Linked DNA regions of Homo sapiens: region 2 is linked to region 1. Evidence: promoter capture Hi-C in 16 types of primary human blood cells and fetal thymus (Javierre and others, 2016). All regions are on one chromosome and are shown on one strand. The core of a region is centred on a gene start or on the middle of the fragment in contact, and the rest is flanking DNA. Distances in the headings are between cores, read along the strand shown.

Region 1 (3,706 bases), core at 606-3,105:
AAATCTGAGCCTCCTCTGGCTCCAGCCCTGCCCAATCTGGGCTGCCTCCAGGCCACCCCCACACAAAAATGACATTGCATCCACCCCCACCTTCCACAAGCCCGGTGAAACCCTGCCTGCCAGGAGCCAGTCCTGGTCCAGAGAGGTGCAAGAGGCTGGTGGCCAGAGACTCCTGTGCCTCTCTGGGCCTCAGTTTCCCCAGCTAAAACAGACACAACGATGTTCTAAAGGAGATAATTGCAGCCTGTGGGCTCAGCCCTGCAGCCGCAGGGAGGCTGCTCCAGAGTGAAGAAACCATCCTCTCCCAGAACTTTCAATGGCTCCCTGTTGCAGCACTCTGGTACCCATAGAGGCTGCTGAGACTCAGTGTAGAAGTCCCCTGCCCACTCCCAGCTTTGCTCCCCAGGAAATATTCTGATGGCCTCCTGTCCCTCTGCCCATCTGGGCTGCCTGCCTCCTGTTATACCTCCCTCTGCCCCTTCCAGGAAGCCTTCCCAGACGGCATCCCTCCCCAGCAGGCTGGGTCAGGACCCTAGGGCCCACCTACTCTCTCCTGTTGGTCTGCATTACAACCAGCCTGAGCTCGGGAAGGCCCAGCCCCTCCCTTGGGGAGCCTTCCCTGAGTCTCCGGTGTGCAGTACAACCCACTCAGCAGGGCCTCGGCACTCAGGCGGCTGGAAGGTTAAAGTGTGAGTATCAGCAGAAGCACACGGGATGGGAACAAGAGGAGATGGTGCTCTCGGCAGAGGAGACACTAACTAAATGGCCCCAACCGCTCCCCGACAACCCCCGCTGCCACCCCAGGCTGGCCACAAGGCCTCCTGGCTCTGAAGCTGTCTGGGGAGAGTGGCCCTCCAGCAGCCCTCTGGGATCAAGCCTGTTGATGAGCTCACGCTTCCTCCAGCACTGAGGTCCGGGTCCCACACGCTCTCCCCACCTGCTGGCCTGGGTCACGTCCAGGTCTTTCCCACACACCTGACCCCACATGCCACATGCCACCGGTGCATGGGTGCAAACAGAGGCCCAGATGCCAGGTGTGCAGGCTGTCGGTCATGGGTACACACAGACACAGCCAAACCCAGGACACATGCAAAACAGAGAGCCATGCAGGAACCCAGGCTTGCGTGGGCTGAAGCTACCATGCACATGCCCCCTCCCGGGAAGGAAATTGGGCTTTCGTGTGCTCCCACCTCCTGTCCCGCACACAGCACGCACAAGTGCCAGCCACCATCTCCTGGATGGTGCAGCTGAGACTCAGCCCCTCCGTGCCTCAGTTTCCCCCTCCTGCCCCCCACACAGCACACACAAGTGCCAGCCACCGTCTCCTGGATGGTGCAGCTGAGACTCAGCCCCTCTGTGCCTCAGTTTTCCCCTCCTGCCCCGCACACAGCACGCACAAGTGCCAGCCACCATCTCCTGGATGGTGCAGCTGAGACTCAGCCCCTCCGTGCCTCAGTTTCCCCCTCCTGCCCCGCACACAGCACACACAAGTGCCAGCCACTGTCTCCTGGATGGTGCAGCTGAGGCTTAGCCCCTCCGTGCCTCAGTTTCCCACCTCCTGCCCTGCACACGGCACACACAAGTGCCAGCCACCACCTCCTGGATGGTGCAGCTGAGGCTCAGCTCCTCGGTGCCTCAGTTTCCCCCTCTGTCTCCAGTGGGTGTGGGGACTCTGGTGCCCCAGGCCCCTCTGTGCCTCGGTTTCTTCTTCTGTCTCCAGTGGGTGTGGGGACTCTGGTGCCCCAGGCACCGTCCCTCAGGCTCTGAGCCTTGACTCCTCCTGGGGGCGGGGAAGGAGCCTGCCCCGCCCCCACCCTGCCTTTGCCCAAAAGGAGCCCCAAGCGCTGGCCTGACGTCAGGCCGTAGGAAGGCGAGGTCCGGGCTGCATGCAGAGCTGAGAGCTGAGGACTCCCATCTCCAGCCTGCCCGGGTGAAGCGCGGTAAGTTCCCCTGTGGGCTGGCCCCAGCCTCCCTCTCCCCAGCTTCCCTAGATAGGAGGCTCCTGAGCTGCTCCCTGCAGGGGTTCTCACCCCCAGCCAAGCAGGAGTGGGAAGGGCAGGGCAGAGAAACTGCCTCCAGATCCGGGCTGGGGAGAGCTCAGAGCAGGTCCTGCTGGACAGGGAGCCATTTCTCAGATGAGAAAACAGAGACCTGAGGGAGAACATGGGCGTGAGTTGGGCTGGCTGCATAAGGGGGAGCTGCGCTGCTAGGTGCCCACCCAACTCTGGATTTCATTCATTCACTCATTCATCCCTCCGTTCAACACTCACCGAGCATCTGCTGGGTGCCCAGAGCTGGGTCTTGGTTTCCCCACCTGGCAAGGCAGCAGGGTGGCCCACAGGCCAAGCCAGGGACAGAGTTGGGGGACCCCAGAGGCACTTGGCAGGCTCTGGGGCCTCAGCCACCACCACCCCGCAGCTGGGGCAGGGCCATGGTGAGGGCTTTGTGGGCATGGGCTCCAAGCGCCATGCTCCCTCTTCAGAGTGCCCGTCCTGCCATCCCACAGCTCAGGCCCTCTGCAGTAGCCTTGGTGCTGTCTCTACCCCTTAGGGGTGGGGAAACTGAGTCCCAGGGAAGGCTTGCTTGCCAGCCCTCAGTGTGGACCTAGAAGCTGGCTCCAGCCCCGCGAAGCTCGCACTGGGACTGCGCTGTGAGAAGGCGGCAGGACAGGGTCCCGAGGGGGCAGCGGGCTGGGAACTGGCCAGCAGCCAGGGTGCTGGCGGGGCAGACGTGGAGCAGCTGGCGACCTCGCAGGACGGGGAATGCACCCCGCAGGAGGCTGGGCCTGTCCACTTGCCCTGTCTTCTTCCTTCAACAGCTGGTCATCCTGGGTCTTCCCTCCCCTCTCCCCCCAGGACTCATCCAGTCGCTGGGCTCCAGGGCGGTCTGCTGAGTGGCCGTGGCAAGTCGCTGCCCCTCTCTGAGCCACACGGTGTGGGCCCATCAGCAAAGGCGGGGTCTGCGGCTGGAGAGCCGGGCGTGGGGGCCATGCAGTTTGGACCATTTCTGAGCAGCTCCTGGAGCCCACGGGGTGGCTTCATTGTCTTCTTGTTAAGTGGTATTAGCATCTCCTCTTTATAGATGAGGAAACTGAGGCTCAAGGAGATCAGAGGGGTATTCTAAAATCATCCACTCCATCACTCAGCAGTGACTCAGTGACTCAGAGGGGCCAGCCAAGGCCAGGGCCCCTGAGGCACTCCAGTTCAGTGAGGGAAGCACAGCGAACAGGAAAGCAGGGACATAGGGAACTGCGCGTGGCAGGGCACTGCGAAGGAAGCCAGGCGGTGCAGGCGTGCGGGGCTGTGGGCTCTGGAGGGCCTCCCTGAGGAGGGGCGTCAGGGCCCAAAGAACCTTAAGTTGATCCCCTCACCATACGTCCCAAAGCCCTCCCCACGCCCCCGGTGTCTCACAGAGCCCTGAACACAGACTCTCCTTCCCACCTCTGGCCCTTCATGCTCACTGTGCCCTTCCTGCTGCCGGGAGCGCTCTTCCCTCTGATTGTCCTGAGGCCCATCCCGGCCGTGACCAGCCACCTCCCACCCTACCCTGAGCTGTCAGCTCGGAAAGGTGGGGCCAGGTCTGCCTGGGACCCATTTGTGCCCGCAGTGCTGGGGTCTAAGTCCTGGTCTGACACCTCCAAACTGCACGGGGCTGTGTGGCCTGGGGCCTCTGATTCCCTCCACACACAGGGCTGGGTGCCGCAGAA
Region 2 (3,706 bases), core at 856-3,355, 530 kb after region 1:
TTCTTGTCAACAGTAGTCAATTGCATCCTTTAGCTACTTATAATAAATATCAAAGAAGGAGGTGCTGGTAGATTTGGCAGGAATTGATGGTTGCCTCACTGAGACAGAAGTTTATTTCTCTTATATAAAAGAAGTGATAGACAATCAGTGTTTCTCAGTCATTGGGGCTACAGGTTACTTTAATTTTACCATTTTGTAATCCATAGCCACCTCATAGCCTAAGAGGCTGCTGAACATCACTCATCACCACGTATGTATTCTAGTCCCCAGGAAGGAGGAAGAGATGGGCATTCTCTTTTTCTTTTCAAGGACACAAACGTGTATACAGTAAGTCTTCACTTAACATCAATAGGTTCCTGGAAACTATAAGTGAAACGACATAAAGTGAAACCAGTTTTACCGTGGGCTAATTGATATAAACAAGAGTTAAGTTCTTGTGGAATGTTTCTCGTCACAAAAACATCCCCAGCTTCTAAGTAGAGACCCAAAACACTTCTAATATTAAACATTGGAATAAATGTAAGCATACATTTTAAAAAGTCTGATTAAAAAAAAAACCAGATAATTATTTACCCAGTTATTCCAGTTCAGGGTCGTGGGTGGCTGGACCCTATCCCAGCAGCTCAGGATGCAGGTCAGGAGCCAGCCTTGGACAGGATGCCATTCTCGTCACAGGGAGTACTCACTCCCCCAACCCCATACTCACTCATCCTGGGACAATTCAGACACACCAGTTCCCCTAACATGCACATCTTTGGGATGTGGGAGGAAAGTGGAGTAACCATAGAAACCCCACACAGACACAGGGAGAACATGCACACTCCATATAGTGGCCCAGCTGGGAATCAATTTTTTTTCTCATCAACACTATAATGAAACAACATTACATAATAATGACATTATTTATGAACCTGCTGTTTAATACTTTCCCTTAGAGGGACATAGGAGAAAACATAGTCGCATAGCCATACCTGCTACAGAAGAGACTGGGGAAGGCAGCACTTTACCTGGCCAAAAGACAACTTCATCCCCAGGATGAAGGGGAGAATGTCATTAAGAAACAGCAATCTCTGTTGCAGTTAGATAATTTTAACATTTGTCTGTTAAGAAGCTTGAGTATAATTTAGAGGTGAAAGTACCACCATACTATTTCTAAATTAAATATACTCAATTCTGACAGTTTTGGAGAAAGAGTAAGAGTTACTACATGGAAATGCCTATTTAAGTTATATTTGAAGTTAGTTTTGGCTGCATTTTTGCCTGGGTTTTAAGTATTTGAGGGATTATGTTCACAAAATATTAAACAGGGTCAACAGACAAGAATCTTCTCAGAAATATTGCCAGAAGAGAAATAAATTTATCCTTGACTTAAAAATGTGCTTATAATAAGCTTAGTTTCTTTTTAATATGTAAAGAAAGTTGATTCCCATCTGAGGCTTCTAAAAGCCAGCTGTGTTATGAATTTGTGGATATGAATACACGTGCAGGATAAGGCCACAGGCTGGGACTAGATGGGCACCTAGAGGATTCATCTCAGTGAGTGGGGAATGCTGATGGCAGTCAGCTGGTGCAGGTGGGGAGAGGCCCTCCTACACAGCCTCTTTTCCTGCAGCATTCTGGATGGCCACTGTGGTGTGAAAGGAGGAATATGAGGAGGTGCATAGTCATCATGCAGGAATGTGGGAGGGCAGAGCTCTCTAAGGATTTTCCAAAAATGCTAAATGGCAACAGGAATCAGTGGAGTGTTAAATGGGATTCTGAGGTTTAGCAAAAGAGAAAGAAGACCATATCAGTCAGCAGTGTTCTAAATCTTTCACTTAAAGGATAGAGGTCAGTTAAACATTAAGAGAGTTCTGTTTAAAATTGGCCAGAAAAACCTTAAATCTCGATGGCTAAGTGTATTGGTTTTAAACTCTTATCTTATAGTACCTTTCACACTGTGTTGTAGTTAGTTGTTTATGTAATTATCTCACTTAAGAAAAGGAAACATATTAGCGATTTTTCTATCCCATGATCTGTTATAGTGCCTAGTATGTCATATGGTCTCAGTGAGGGAGTAAATGAATACAGCCTCTCTTTTCTTTGTAGCTTCAAATCTAAATGATTTGAATCTTAGTGAATAGATCATAGAAACCGTTTTTGTTAGTCCTGAGAGAGAAGTAGGAAAGGTAATACTTAGAAGCCCTCTGCTATGTATATACAAGCAGTCCCAACGAAAGGCTTCTTAACATACAGCTGTCTCCTGTGAGATCTGCTGCCTTCTGCATTGTCATGGTAGAGCTCTCTCCTCATGCCTCTATACCTTCTTTCCCCAGTCTTTCTGAGCAAGGCAAGAACCTTGAGTGGTTGTCCCTGTGGTAACTCTGCACCTATTCCCAGTGCTCATGCATTTCACCCATCCCTGTGCTTACTGAGGAGCCTTTGGGCCCACAGCACCAAGCCCTAGAGAATGAGGGTGGCTGAAGTCCTAGATTCATTGCTCTGGCCCAGCCCCACCCATTGCAGCTTTCTGCGACAATGGAACTGTTCTGTGACTGCCCCACCTAGTTTGGTAGCCTCTAGCCACATGGGACTGCTCATCACTTGAAATGTGATGAGCATTGCAGTTGGGAACAGAATTTTTAATTTAATTCAACTAATGTAAGTATAAATAGCTACATATCACTAGCGGTTGTATATTGGACAACACAGTTCTAACCTAATATTAGTGTCTTGTCATCTGTGTATGGGTTCAAGAGGTTTCTCTGAACTGATGTGGGAATCTAATAAACTGATGCTTGGGTTTGGGAATTGGGGTTTGGCAATATTCTAAAAGCTTCATGTGAGTTAGTTTTTTATTACATGAGTTTAAATGCATTTAGGACATATCCTTTGACAGTTAATATAGTAAGGAATTATTGTATGATAAAGGTTAGTAATTATATTTTGTTGATGATGTGTAAGTTGTATTTGTTGTTTTATTCGCATACAGGACAGTTGTGTAGAGTTTGGGCTCAAAGAAGGTTTTTACGCCACTTGAGGCAAAACTACTGCTGATTAGAGTGCACATTGTAAACCAGTCCCAAACACACAGATCATGGAGAGAGGCGACCTCATATTAAAAATGGGACAGCCTACAAGTCCCTGTTTGGTTTCCTAAGGCTTTAAATTTAGATATCTATAATAGGCTTTCCCTAAAAACTTTGAACATAGTACCTTAGGTGGGCTCAGAGTCCTCTATCACAAAACCTGAAGTAGTTTGATTTCGAGATTAAATTAAAATGTGTTAAAGGCAGCGTTGCAGAATTTTTACCATGACCTTGTGTACTTGAGCCTCATTTTTATTTTCTCAACTGCCAGGTATCAAAAAAGTTCTAACATATGGACAAACGTTACAAATTCATTATTAGTCAAAAGAAGTTTAAGAAAACCTAAACTGTATATATGCTAATTATTAGCCTTCAGGTTTCTTTTTTTTTTAATGGAGTTGTCTTCACCTTTGAAGTAAAAGCAATACCTAGTATTCGTCTTTATTTTCAAAAAACATATGCTTCCTTTCATTTTTCTTGAATCATACAACACTTTTGGTTTATCTTTAACTTTCTTATTTGTGACAGCAATGAATATGGTAAGTTCTTTAGTTATGCCTGGCTCTGAGAAAAATAGATGTGTAGCTGGGTTGATTAATAGCAGTTGACAGCCACACAGTGGCGGAGAGGATATTCCC

Evidence for each region. Contacts are between HindIII fragments. The CHiCAGO score rates a contact against its expected background, and 5 or more counts as called.
Region 2: a fragment that was not itself captured here is called in contact with the fragment with the promoter of GPR20 in region 1 in 1 of 17 cell types (monocytes); the score reaches 6.4 in monocytes.

What each region holds. Positions count from the first base shown.
Region 1 is chr8:141,365,435-141,369,140 of GRCh38, reverse strand. GPR20 (G protein-coupled receptor 20) reads left to right here and starts at 1,855. Exons shown (of 2, transcript NM_005293.3): 1 at 1,855-1,940. RefSeq lists a silencer at 1-178 and an enhancer at 543-1,092. The HindIII fragment of the contact is 50,298 bases long and covers 1-3,706 here.
Region 2 is chr8:140,832,929-140,836,634 of GRCh38, reverse strand. All of the region lies in intron 7 of PTK2 (protein tyrosine kinase 2), which reads left to right. Among named protein-coding and RNA genes, the nearest start is that of MIR151A, 100 kb to the right of the region's middle. The HindIII fragment of the contact is 1,425 bases long and covers 1,393-2,817 here.